Linked DNA regions of Homo sapiens: all the other regions are linked to region 4. The links are contacts of gene promoters, found by promoter capture Hi-C in blood cells and fetal thymus (Javierre and others, 2016). All regions are on one chromosome and are shown on one strand. Each heading gives the region's core, a stretch centred on a gene start or on the middle of the fragment in contact. The rest is flanking DNA. Distances are from core to core; before and after follow the strand shown.

Region 1 (3,249 bases), core at 515-3,014, 220 kb after region 4:
GAAATGGATGTTAGTGGTCACAGCTAGCCAGCTTTGTTGCATGTGCTGTTCCCTCTCTCTTTAGAAATGTCCCTCTGCTTCCTTCCTCGCCTTTCTCTGATTAGAGGGCGCCGGTGCACCCTTCAGGTCATCTAAGTGTGTCTTCCTTTAGGAAATCTTTCTTGACCACCAGTGTGGTCAGTACTCCTTGAACGCCTCTGTAGCACCCAGAATATTTTATAGCACTAACCATATGACTCACATTGTTCACTTTCTCATCAGTCCCCTACATGACACCTTGAGGTCCCTGACATTAGAAGCTGTGCCTTTTGTCTTTCTGTACTCAATGCCTAGTGCTGTTTGGCATTGGATTGTAGGTGATCAATAATGTCTGTCAAATAAATGAATGGCTCCTGGATGGCTTCTAAATGGCCAGGATCTCCAGATGTGCTCCAGAAGGATAATTTCAACCAAGAAGAAGACACAGAAGTTTCCACAGTCACCCTAATAGCTTTCGTTTGCCATCTGGGCCTGGGTCAGTTATCACACTGGGACCCCAGGAAGAAGCTTAGTGTTGTGGATGTTAGAGATGCAAAGAGAGCTCAGGTGCCTTATTTTGAGCTCAGCCCACTAACCGTCTTTACAGCTTGATTAGCCTTTAGAGAGAAAACAGAACTTTGGCCTCAACTTCCTGGCAGGTAAGGAAAGAGATTAGCAGATGCCCATTGTGTGAACCCGGCTAAGACTACAGCCAACTCGGAAGCAAGGCGATGGGCTGGAATGGCTCCTATCCACATGGTATTTTGGTAAGTTAAGAAAAGTTACATAGTGACACACTCTGGTACAGCTTCTGTGATCCCCACATTGCTCTCAGCCAGTTTGAGTCAGGACCAAAGACAGTAAAATCTTATTAACACAGGAGAGAAAGACTGAGTCATTTCCGTAATGACTGCCTCACAGCAGGAATCATTACCAAGCCTGAGAGCGAGAAAATGGCGCTCTCTTTTTATGTGGAATTGTTGGCTGGAGTCTCGCCTTTATGACTTTTGAAGAAGGAATTATATGGTTCATACATCCAAGAACAAATAAAACAGGGTTGCCGGCCGGGCTCGGTGGCTCACGCCTGTAATCCCAGCACTTTGGGAGGCCGAGGCGGGTGGATCACGAGGTCAGGAGATCAAGACCATCCTGGCTAACATGAGAAACCCTGTCTCTGCTAAAAATACAAAAAAAATTAGCCGAGTGTGGTGGTGGGCACCTGTAGTCCCAGCTACTCGGGAGGCTGAGGCAGGAGAATAGCATGAACCCAGGAGGCGGAGCTTGCAGTGAGCCGAGATCGCGCCACTGCACTCCAGCCTGGGTGACAGAGCGAGACTCTGTCTCAGGAAAAAAAAAAAAAAAAAAGCAGGGACGCTACCTCATGGTGTGTGAGTAGTCAGACAGCAATGATACCAGGACCTGGCATCAGTGGGGCAGAGCAGAGCGGGGTGGTGTTGAGGAGGGCCTGGGAGGAGTTGGGTATCTGCAGCTCTTGGGCCTGCCGAGGTCCCCTTGCCACCTCCAGTATTTGTGTTTGAGGTTCATTAGGGCCAAGCGGGTCAGGAAAAGGAATAGAACATAAATTTCATAGCTTTACATGGTTGACTTGGGCTCTGTAAGTGGTAAACCCAATGAAATAAAGGTGAATCATGCCTTTTGAATCCTATGTCTTTATTTAGGTTCCGGTGCTTCTCTTCCTGGTTGGGCTGGTTCTTATCCAGGCCTTTTGAGGGCCATGGAGGGTGTCTGAGGGCACAACAACAGGCCTCCTTTAGGGACACTATGGCCTCAGGACCTTAATTCCCAAATGCTTCTGTTCTCTTTAGCTCTCCTCACAAGAGGGGAAAACTGCTGCTATCTCTCTTCTGTGGAGTTGTAGGTATGTGCCTGCATTAAGCAGAAACATTGAGCTGCTCAGATGATGATGACGATGATAGCTAACGGTCATTGAAACTTACAATGTACTAGGCACTAAGTTAGGGTATTTACATGCAAGATCCTGTTTAAATCTCATAATCACTCTATAAAATATGTACTACATCCACTCATTGTTTTAGGTGGAAAACATCCTGGTGGGGAAGATTCTGAGAAATTCAGCTCCAAAATAGAATCATACTAAGAAACCCACCTAGAAGTCCTGGCAAGGATGTGCTTCTGAATTCCATCATCATTAGTGGTTGTGCCCTGGGAACCAGCACAAGCTCTTTCTTCAAATTTCATTTCAAATTTTATCACTTTTCAACACCCCCACTGTAACGACTTTAATCCACTTACCATCATCTCTCACCTCAGCTACGAATAATAACAGATATTTTTGAGATATTCTTGGGTACCAGGCATTGTTCTACACACTTTACATGTGTGTTATGCCTTAATCTTCATGGTAACACAACAAGGTAGGACTCATGATGGAGACCGCTGCATTGCACAGCTCTGAGTGGCACTGTGCACGCTGCACTCGTCGGACTCCAGGGGGAGATTCTGGAGTTGTACAATGTGGTAACCCTATTACATCTCCATTTTATAGATGAGAGAAGTGAAGTGCAGGTGAGTTATTTAACTTGTCCATGCTCATGCTGCTCATCAATGGCAGACATGCTTCAAACCCTGGCAGTCTGGCCCTGGAGGCTTCCCCACTGTGTTATACTGCCTCTCCGTCCCTATACTAGCCCCCTGGTTGGGGCCTCTGCTCTTGCTCTTCTGTATTCTCCAGTGGCTAAAGTGATCCTTTTAAAGCACATAAACAATATAAGGACTCAAAACTCTCCAATAGCTTCCCATCAATCCTGGAATACAATCTGAACAAACTTCATAGCATGCCCCATGAGGCCCTATGTGATCTTCTCCTCACCCCATGCCTCCAGGCTCCTGTGTGACAACCTTCTCCCAGCTCACTATATTTTTGTTTTCCTGAGACCATACCCTTCTGATCTTTTTGTTTTCCTGAGACCATGCCAAGCTTGTGCTCACCTCAGGGCCTTTGCACATGCTGTTTCCTGTGCCCCTGCCTCATCCTCTGCCTGGATCCTCTCATGGGCCACCTCCTCACCTCATTCAGGACTCTGCCCAAATGCCACTTTCTCCAGAGAGGCTTTCTTGATGTATCCATGTAAAATAGCCTCCAACTCACTTCCACCATTCTCCATCCCTTTAGCCTTCTTTGTCTTTCTTTGTAGCGCTTAATAGTACTCAAGGTTATACTATGGATTGATTAATGTATTGGTGTATTAA
Region 2 (3,533 bases), core at 497-2,996, 230 kb after region 4:
GAAAAATCACATTTGGGGACTTTAAGTCTCAGCCTCCTTGTAACAGTTATGCCCTCAAGAACCTCAGCCCGACCCAGGAAAGAGGATCTTTGTGCTTCCTAGGAGAAGAGAAAGATCTTTGTAATAGACCATCACTGATGGGGGACTGAGAGTTCCAGAAACGGCAGTGACCATCCTGCATGGGATGAAAGCAGTGTTGTCAGGTTCAAGCTTGCCTGAGAGAGGAAGGTGATTCTTTGCTGGGGGAAAACTAATTAACTAGTTGCCTTGAAAAGTCAACTTGTTTGAAACTGAACGGCCTTCCATTTCGGGATAATTCCTACCTATTTTATTATTCTTTGTTCCTGTTTTGTTTTGTTTTGTTTTGTTTTTTGAGACAGAGTCTTGCTCTGTTGCCCAGGCTGGAGTGCAGTGGCATGATCTCGGCTCACTGCAACCTCCACCTCCTGTGTTCAAGCAATTATCCTACCTCAGCCTCCCGAGTAGCTGGGATTACAGGTGCCAGCCACCATGCCTAGCTAATTTTTGTATTTTTAGTAGAGACAGTTTCACCACGTTGGCCAGGGTGGTCGTGAATTCCTGACCCCTCAGGTGATCCGTCCATCTCAGCCTCCCAAAGTGCTGGGATTACAGGCATGAGCCACCACACCTGGCCTCTTTGTTACTTTTTATTATTTTAAATAATCAGTGAAAACTTTTAAACTTAGTGTTTAAAAAATAATAGTCAGGGCCTGGCACAGTGACTCAAGCCTGTTATCCCAGCAGTTTGGGAGGCTTATGTGGGAGGATTGCTTGAGGCCAGGAGTTCGAGACCAGCTTGGCAAGATAGTGAGACCCCCATCTCTACAAAATTAAATTAAATTAAAAAATAATTATCCCAGTGTAGTAGCACATGCCTGTAGTCTTAGTTGTTCCAGAGGCTGAGGCAGGAGGCTTGCTTGAGCCCAAGAGTTCAAGGCTGCAGTGAGCTATGATTGCACTACGTTTGACATTTCTTTTCAGGACCCAAGCATTTTAAAATTGTCTTAAGATATTCCCTCTGATGAGCTTAAGATACCTGCAGATTTCCACATCATTACTGGCATAAAACACCTTTTTAAAAACCAAATTTTGGTTCTTCTATTAAACAAATATAAAGGTGAATTAATTAATTTAACTGCTCTCCTTTCTTGCTTATTAATTATATTTGGGAAAACTCTACCAACAAATCATATAAAAATAAAGAACAAATGGAACACTTTGAAAACTGCTAGCATTTCTGAGCTTATCTTATTATCTATCCAAGCACTATCCCATAGTCAGTAAGTCATATTTTACAGCTTGGACAGACTTTCCAAAATAATTACTGGATATAGCCATTTTATGGGTACTTTTAGTGTCTTTGTGGTATGTGATGTGATAGTGTTTATATAATTAACAATATCTTATATTTTCAAGGGAAACTTGGAAGTCTGTCACTCTAAATGAGTCTATCACTCTAAATAAATATGTGCTCAAATATGACTGGCTCAGTTTAAGACACAAAACAGCAACTTGAAGGAGGAAAAATGAAGAGAGTTTGTAGTTAATGGGTTAAATTTTTGTTGTTGCAATATTAAGTGTGGTTTTCTTATAATATTTCTAAATGAAAAATCATATGTATTTGTTACCACATATGATGATTACTTTGTTAAAAGCAAAAGTAGTCATGTGGTATATTAAATGTTAATTGCTGTTTTCATATGTTTAAATCATGCCAAACAAATCATGTCTGTGCCATCCAGTGTTTATTGTTAATCTTTCACTGAGTACTTGGATTGGGATAAAAGGCTTATACTGTGCACTTTTTATTAATGAATAAATTGAAAACATTAGTAACACTCAGAAAAAAATGTCTTTTTGTAATCTGTGTTCCATCATCCTTGCATCTGAGCTATTCCAGTTTCCCTCTATCATCAGGTGACTGTAAGAAATCACTAAATAAAATACACAAAACCCATGCCAGCTGGTAATCACCACAGCAATCTTGCCATAAAAGAACATGTGTTTTCCTGAAATCTTTGCAAACAAAAGGAATAATTTAGCTGACAGCTCAAATGACCCCAACAAGAACACCCTGAGAAGTTTATAACATGTTAGACAACAGTGTACAAAATCCCTGATAGAGAAATCTGGAAATCGTTATGCCACCCAAAATCATAAATGCTTGATTATGTTTACTAGGGATGCCATCATGGAAAACTTTGAAAAGTCTTAAAGGATTTTCTTCCAAGGTAAATTAGAAAATACAGAAAGCGCCAAAGATAAGTGAGGGATAGCAGACTGAAATCAGAAAAGGTTTTGGCCAATGGCTTGAGGGTCAGCTGCTTTCGTAAATCATTTTTTAAAAAGTTTTTTTAATGAAATGAAACATACAGAAAGGATATGTATGATTAGTGTACAATCTAAGGAATTTTTGCAAAGAACACAACTGTGTAACCAGCACTTAGAACAAAAAACAATGTCACGAACACCCCAGAAGACACACTGATATCTCCTCCCACAAAGGACAATCCCTATCCCAGTTAGTTTTCCTGTTTCTATATTTCACATAAAATAAATCACATAGTGTGCAAACTTTTATGTCTCGCTTCTTCCACTCAACATTCTGCTTATGAGAGTCACTGGTATTGTTGCATTCGTAGCAGGCTGTTCATTCTAATTGTTATAATGTATTCCACTGTGGTGATTATTCCCCAAACTTACCCATTCTATTAGGCATTTGGTCCAAGTACAGAGAACCAAAATTTATTGTCTGGAGTTGGAAGTTTTTAAAAAATAATCACATATTTGAAAGAGACACACAGGGGATTTTTATGCTGACATACGGAAAGAAAATAGAAGGACCATTTCATTTGTTCAGGCCTCTAACTTTATTCTGTTTTGCTTTTATTCCCCAGCCTCAGGAAAACTTTAGAGTTATGCTTGCGAGAGCACTAACTGTTACAAGGAGGGTGAGATCTGGAGTTCCAGAAAAATAAGAGAGAATCTTGCATCTGGAGCATAAATGATCTTCAAGAAATACACACAGGAAGTTGAACAGGTGTATAAACTTCAGAGAAGCTCTCTGGTCTCTCAAAAATCCCTGTGAATATCTCAGAGCAGCTGAGATGCCTCATTATCCCCGGATGCCTAATTCATTCTCATTATTGTGACTTCAATCTTTACTATCTCAACAAATATGGATATCCAGCCACTTCTCAACCCCAAATTCTCAAGAAAAAGTGGGATCATGAGCTGCATATTTGATCCAATGAAGCTTTGTCAAGTCCTGGGAGTGTCATCTTCTTATTTTAGATATAACTGTGGCCAAAATATTTATCTACCACATAGCTCATATTTTCCTTCTCCAAGAACATAACAGTTGCCCTGATTAATATCTCTTTTGAAAAACTCTAAAATGCCAACTACTCACTGTTTCCAATTATTCGAAGGAAAGCTAACTTCCAGAGAGTCTATCTGCATGTAATTATTTCAAATATTTCTAAGTACTTGGGAGGAAGAGCTCTTGAAAT
Region 3 (3,484 bases), core at 764-3,263, 220 kb before region 4:
ATCAGCAAGATGTGATGGGGCATGCCTGTAGTCCTGGCTACCCAGAAGGCCAAGGTGGGAGAATCGCTTGAGCCCAGGAGGTCAAGGATGCAGTGAGTCATGATCATGCCGCTGCTCTCCAGCCTGGGCAAGAGAGGGAGACCCTGTCTCAAAAAAAAAAAAAAAAAAAACCTTATAGTTTATCACTTTGTTTTTTTTTTTTTTTGAGGTGAAGTTTTGTTCTTGTTGCCCAGGCTGGAGTGCAGTGGTGCAATCTTGGCTCACTGCAACCTCCACCTCCCAGATTTAAACAATTATTTTGCCTCAGCCTCCCAGGTAGCTGGGATTACAAGTGCCCATGACCACACCTGGCTAATTTGTTTTTTGGGGTTTTTGTTTGTTTGTTTGTTTGTTGTTTTTGAGATGGAGTCTCACTCTGTCACCAGACTAGAGTGCAGTGTCACGATCTTGGCTCACTGCAACTTCCTCCTCCTGGGTTTAAGCAATTCTCCTGCCTCAGCCTCCCAAGTAGCTGGGACTACAGGCACGTGCTACCATACCCAGCTAATTTTTGTATTTTTAGTAGAGACAAGGTTTTACTATGTTGGCCAGGATGGTCTCAAAACTCCTGACCTCAGGTGATCCAAACACCTCGGCCTCCCAAAGTGCTGGGATTACAGGCATTACAGGCGTAAGCCACCGCGCGTGGCCAATTTTTTGTATTTTTAGTAGAGACAGGGTTTCACCATGTTGGCCAAGCAGGTTTCAAACTCTTGACCTTCAGGCAATCCACGTATCTTGGCCTCCCAAAGTGCTGGGATTACAGGTGTGAACCACCGCACCTGGTCCAGTTTATTACTTCTTACTTGGTGCTAACATTATATTTAATAATTGTCTCATATTATAGTTATCCCTTTGACTGCAATTATCACTTTTCCTGTGCTGTCCTGATAGACTGCAGTGAGTTCCTTGTGAATGTCTTATTCACCTCTGTTTCCCTAGCCCAGTTCCTGTCACCTGGCAGGTGCTTGTTGAAAGTTTAATGAAGAAACAAGTGAATGAATCCATGCTTAGAGAGTACAGCTCTGAAATTCAATGTCGTAAACAATTGTTTCATACATGATTTTAATATATATATTTTATTTTAAGAAAAGGAATGCAATTTTCTTACCATTTTAAGGACAAAGGAAGGGTGCTTCAACTTCAAGTGACATAAACCTACGCTTAAAATTGGCTTGAACAATAAAGGGAATTTGTCAACTTACAAAACAGGAAAAATTCAGTCTTATTTCTGGCGAGGCTTGGTCCGGTTGCCCAGGCATATCCCTATAGCAAGAGTTGTCTCTCTGCTCTGTCTTCTGCAGTGGCAGCTCCACCGGGCTTCCCACAGTGCTGCCTCCAGCAGCTCCAAGCTCTCTCATTAGGGTAACAAAAACCTGTAGCACCTCCTGGCCTCATGTCTCTTCCTCTTCATGAGGAAGAAGAGGATCTCTTACAGCATATGGGAGAGAGAGCCCCAGCAAACATCTCCTGCCTCATGGTACTCCAGTGGGGTTATACTCCCATCTTTCAGCTAATCATTGTAGCCAGGAATGATTCCTCCATGTTGCTTCAGCCATTCCAGGCCTACTCTTAGAGGCAGGGTTAGGGGTGAAGGGGACAGGAGGCAAATACCACCAAACCGTCCGGCTGAGAATATGAGAGGAATGAGTTACCCAAAGGAAAATTGCGATATTGTCAAAAGAAGGAGTCAATAAAGGCTGAGAGAGAATAAATGTGCATTTATAAAAGGCTTTAAAAATCTTTTGAGCCAGAATCCCATAATTTTTTCAGAAACAAACTACTTTGTTTTTCCCTGAAGTCTCAGACCACCAGGCAAGGAGAAGCTTCTGGAGGTAAAGTGAGGGGTGGTTTCAGGCCCTGGGGCAGAGCTGGAGTGCAGCCTCATTTCTCTTTGACAAGCCAGTCTTGAGCCAGCTGTGGGATCATGGTGGCTAGTTAAGGATCCCTGATCTCAGCTAGCCCTCCTTGCTTCACAGTGGGACACTGAGGTCCAGAGAGCTTGATTCATGCAAAGTAAGTGGTTATCAGCAGGACCCATCATGGGACTGTATTAGTCTGTTCTCATGCTGCTATAAAGAACTGCCCGAGACTGGGTAATTTATAAAGAAAAGAAGCTTGGGCCAGGCGCGGTGGCTCACGCCCTTAATCCCAGCACTTTGGGAGGTCGAGGTGGGCGGATCACCTGAAATCAGGAGTTTGAGACCATCCTGGCCAACATGGTGAAACCCCGTCTCTACTAAAACTACAAAAATTAGCCGGGTATGGTGGCGCATACCTGTAATCCCAACTACTTGAGAGGCTGAGGCTGGAGAATTGCTTGAATTTGGGTTGTGGAGGTTGCAGTGAGCCGAGATCGCACCACTGCACCCCAACCTGGGCAACAGAGTGAGACTCCATCTCAAAAAAAAAAAAAAAAAAAAAAAAAGAGGTTTAATTGACTCACAGTTCCACATGGCTGGGGAGGCCTCAGGAAACTTGGAATCATGGTGGAAGGCACCTCTTCACAGGGTGACAGGAGGGAGAATAAGTGCCCAGCAAAGGGGGAAGCCCCTTATAAAACCATCAGAACTCATGAGAACTAACGCACTATCACAGGGGAACTGCCCCCATGATTCAATTATCTCCACTTGGTCCTTCCCATGGGGGTTATGGGAACTACAATTCAAGATGAGACTTGGGTGGGGACACAACCAAACTATATCAGGGGCCCACAGCACCCTCACTTATATGACACTTCATGGCATTTCATCAGCACCATAAAGTATCTACCAAGTACTTGAAGGACATATAAAAAAAAATTTTGTGGTAAATTATGGTCATCTTGATTTCATAATGATTAGTTGAACCATCCAACATACATTTAAAAATATACATTGCATTATTTTTAAATAGTTATGAAAGAAAGCTGAAACCATTTTTGGTTGAATGAAATTTTACCATTTTAACTTTGTCTTGTTTCCAGGACTTTTCAGTCGTGTGGCATTCACTAAATAATAAAGGTATTGTATGTTTCAGTGTGTGGTAACAGCAAAGAATGACTTCATCAACCACTTGATCTCCTCTGTTGTGGTTTATGATGCCATCTGGATTCTTTGGTGGAATTATTTCCATCTAAATCACTATAAACTCCTATTTAGTTTTCACAAATCTAAAGCCAGATATGTTTGTGGTTTTTAACAGTGATGTAATTCTGGAACATACTTTGAAAGTTACAAGTTGTCATATACTGTTAGTATTTAACTCAGTGTTTCATATACTATCAGACACTAGAAGCCTGAACAAAATCCATTTCTCTGTTTTTTCACTCTTCAGCATCCTACTTTTCTTGTCTCTCTTGCCACCATATATTTGATTATACATCAGTCAAGTTCATATAGGGAGCGTTGGGAGGCCTTGTGGGCATACAGAGTACTATGGGACATGGCCCTGTTCTACAGGAATT
Region 4 (3,288 bases), core at 6-2,505:
GCATAGCCTGATGGAGTTTACCAGCAATCATACATACCTCGAAATTAGAGTGGGAAAAATCATTCCTTGTTAGCTATGGTTAACAGTGTTGGCTGCTAAACACAACATATCTCTCGCGCGCGTGTGTGTGTGATGTTCAGCTAAAGGAAATGCAGTTTATTTCTAGGCTTACCCTGGCTTTTCCTTTGTTAAAGGTGCACCAAAAGCTTGAGGAATATTTGATTTGGGGGTGTGGCAGGTGCTAAAAGAACTTCTGTTCAGTAAGTTCGGAGAGTAAAAGGAGACACATTGGCCTTACTAAATAGCAATCACATTGCAAACTGTTAATTCCCATTTCCTAATGGAGTCACCCCTTAGAACATGGCCTGTAGCAAAAAGACAGCCTTTCTAGCGAGTCTAGGACAAGAATTCTCCCGAGTACAAACTGATGTTTATTGTGGGTTAACGGCAGAAGTCTCTCACTGCAGCACCAACTACGATTTACATTTGGGACAGAGTTATTTCCAGACGTGCACACACACTCTGGCCTCTTTCCTACCAAGCACCCACACTTACCAAACCAGTCCAAAAGAGAAAGAACAGGAATAACCATGCCGTATCTGTGCATTTCCTATAAATCTGGGGTCGCCACTCCCTTTGCCTAGGGGCTCCTTCTGCAGAAACCTTCCAGAAAAAGGGAGAGTTGAGAAAAAGAAGATAAACAGGTGGACTCAACCTGGAAACCGAACCCAAATCTACTCGAAGAGGGGCCAAAGTAACCAATCTTTTTCTAAATTTTTAAAATTAATATTATTTTTTTACGTGGCCACCTGAAGCTCTTTCACACAGCCTTTGAAACACCTGCTCTGCGCGGAGCGGATGTTAAGCCCCCTGCCGCCAAGTGCTTACCTGGAGGTGCACCTGAGGACGACCCCAAGTTTGCGCCCCGCGGCCCGCGTCTCCCCCGCCTCCGCCCCAGCACTGGAGCAGGGTCCAGGTTCCTCCCCGCCAGGTGGCCCCAAGGTACTAAGCGGGGGCGGGATCCCCGAGGCGCGGGAAAGGCGGAAGCGTCCGGCAGGGAAGGTGCGTGAAGGCGGGGGACTCGACCCTTCCCCGGGGCTCCTCCCCCGAGGGCCGAGGCTGCGAGCGCTTACCAGGTACTCGGCGCCCAGGCAGTGCATCGTGCGCTCGCCGGCGGGGGCCGGTGACTGGGAGCCGCCGCCGCCTCCTGTACGCGGAGACGCAGCGCCCGCGAGCCGGGGCCGGGGCCGGGGCTGGGGCTGGGGCTGGGGCTGGAGCCGGGGCCGGGCCGGGGAGGGGCGGGCACGGTGCAGCGCCGCCTCCCGTTCGCCTCTGCGCCTGGCCCGGCGACTGCGGGCGCTGCGGTCCACTGGGTCCGCCTCTTCCCGGCATGGGTTTCTGCCCAGCTCACCCGCTGTCAGCTGGGGTCCTGCTCTGGTGGGAGGAAGAGGCTCAGACGCTTCCCTGCCCTCTCGCCTCAACCACCTCGAGGCAGCGGCTCCCAGGATGTGCACTTTGACGACTAAAGCTGAGCCGGCGCCGCCACGACCTTGGGCGGGTGGTCGGCCTCTGCCCTGAGCAGGAAGTAGAAAGTCTCAGCAGACCCTTCCTGAGGGCCGAGCAACAGTGTAGTGGCGTATTCCACATAGCAAACAGGTAAGCAGCATTTACTGTGTGCTGGATTCTGTTCTCACTGCTATTGTTATTCCTAATCTACGGAGGAGGGAAACTGAGGCACGGCCATTGGTGATGCAACTTGTTCGAGGAGACCCAGTAAGTTGTGGAGGCAGGAGTCGAACCCAGACACTCCGGGAGACCGGCGCTCTCGAGGTGGTTTACTCTGACTTCTCTCCCACCTTGCCTTAGGACAATCATTGCCTGACTTCGCAATTGAAATGGTAGTGTCCACTGAAGCGACTGGTGGCATAGTTTTCCAGGTAGTGTCAGACCAGCGCAAAAGCACTGTTGGGGTGAGGAATTTAAAAAACGAAAAACAAAAAAAACTGCAGGCCGACCTCCCCCCACCTCCTCTCAATCAAGCCTCTACCCTTCCCCCTGCCACCCTTAGGGTTGCTAGGTTAATTGCTTCCTTTAGGTGCTGCTTCTCCCTAAGGGTAGAAACCTGACTGGAGGAAAGATCTGGGTAAGTGGGAGAAACTGGGAATGATAGACAGTGGTTCTCTGGTGCCAGCGATTTCCTTCTGGGCTCACACCACCCTCCCACTGCAAACTCACTGGGCCTTCCTGGATGCATGTTTATCAGACAGAGTAGGTGAAACCCCAGGGGAACATGAATTCATAGGACAAAGAATTAGACACTGGAGGAGTGCAACTACTGTTAAAAGACCACAACTGAATAACATATGCCATCTGAAACTGATCAGTAGAGCAGATGGACCAAGATTTTTAAATAAGCATGATAAATTTATTTAAAATGAGTTATGATATTAGCAATATGAATCAGGAAAAAATATGAAACTAAAACATATTAAGCATAAAAATAATAATTAGAATGAATATTGATGCTACGTATTAGTAATGTGCAATAGTCTAAAAGATGCAGCTGACGATGAATTAGTAATTGGAAGAGCACTTTCAGCAAACCTCCAGAGGCAGTAGAAAATGTTTTAAAAAACAAGTTAGCTTATTTGTAAATTTTCTAGCTTATATCTAGGGTAAAACTAGAACAGAAAGGAAGAAATATAAAAACAGAGAAGGGGAAATATTTGAAGATATAATGGAGATAAATTTCAAGGTAGAAAAAAACCTTCAGATTGAAAAGGTTTATCTCAAGCAAAATGTTTCTATATGTAAGTATTTAAAAGCATAACTTTGAACTTATTTTCTATTAAGCCATATTGTCATTAGAATGTGAGAATGTATTAATAATAAAAATATTCTTATGAAAGATTCATTTGAATGACATTCTTGGAGGACATAATCAAGCAAGAAGAGAAACAAATTCAGGAGATGATACAATAGATATAGCATGAGAGTGGCCAAATATTTAGGCTGAATTTATTGTTGTGTTAGAAAAAAGACCAGGAACCACCCAAGTGTCCAGGAACTGGTGGGTGGCTATACATAACTGTGATGCATCTATACGATGAAATACAACTAAGCATTAAGAAGGAACAGACTTCTTACATATGCAAAAACATGGATGATCTCAAATGCATGTTAAGTGAAAAAAAGTCAGATATAATAAGCTACTCTATGATTCCATTTATGTGACATTCTGGAAAAGGCAGAAAATAGATCAATGGTTGTCAGGTGCTGGGGGTGAAG

The links. The method cuts DNA at HindIII sites, captures the fragments that hold promoters and counts their contacts. A CHiCAGO score of 5 or more calls a contact.
Region 1: a fragment that was not itself captured here is called in contact with the fragment with the promoter of SLC44A3 in region 4 in 1 of 17 cell types (neutrophils); the score reaches 5.5 in neutrophils.
Region 2: a fragment that was not itself captured here is called in contact with the fragment with the promoter of SLC44A3 in region 4 in 2 of 17 cell types (neutrophils and monocytes); the score reaches 6.9 in neutrophils.
Region 3: a fragment that was not itself captured here is called in contact with the fragment with the promoter of SLC44A3 in region 4 in 2 of 17 cell types (endothelial precursors and erythroblasts); the score reaches 7.5 in endothelial precursors.

Annotation. Positions count from the first base shown.
Region 1 is chr1:94,603,603-94,606,851 of GRCh38, reverse strand. All of the region lies in intron 1 of LOC105378861 (a long non-coding RNA gene), which reads right to left. Among named protein-coding and RNA genes, the nearest start is that of MIR12133, 62 kb to the right of the region's middle. RefSeq lists an enhancer at 258-1,457. The HindIII fragment of the contact is 2,431 bases long and covers 549-2,979 here.
Region 2 is chr1:94,586,148-94,589,680 of GRCh38, reverse strand. All of the region lies in intron 1 of LOC105378861 (a long non-coding RNA gene), which reads right to left. Among named protein-coding and RNA genes, the nearest start is that of MIR12133, 44 kb to the right of the region's middle. The HindIII fragment of the contact is 3,067 bases long and covers 213-3,279 here.
Region 3 is chr1:95,035,403-95,038,886 of GRCh38, reverse strand. All of the region lies in intron 2 of ALG14 (ALG14 UDP-N-acetylglucosaminyltransferase subunit), which reads left to right. Among named protein-coding and RNA genes, the nearest start is that of ALG14-AS1, 24 kb to the left of the region's middle. The HindIII fragment of the contact is 291 bases long and covers 1,868-2,158 here.
Region 4 is chr1:94,818,324-94,821,611 of GRCh38, reverse strand. It overlaps SLC44A3 (solute carrier family 44 member 3), which reads right to left and starts at 1,255. Exons shown (of 15, transcript NM_001114106.3): 1 at 1,134-1,255; 2 at 556-663. The coding sequence starts at 1,160. It overlaps SLC44A3-AS1 (SLC44A3 antisense RNA 1), which reads left to right and starts at 1,380. Exons shown (of 6, transcript NR_160780.1): 1 at 1,380-1,656. RefSeq lists a silencer at 1,062-1,251. The HindIII fragment of the contact is 9,215 bases long and covers 209-3,288 here.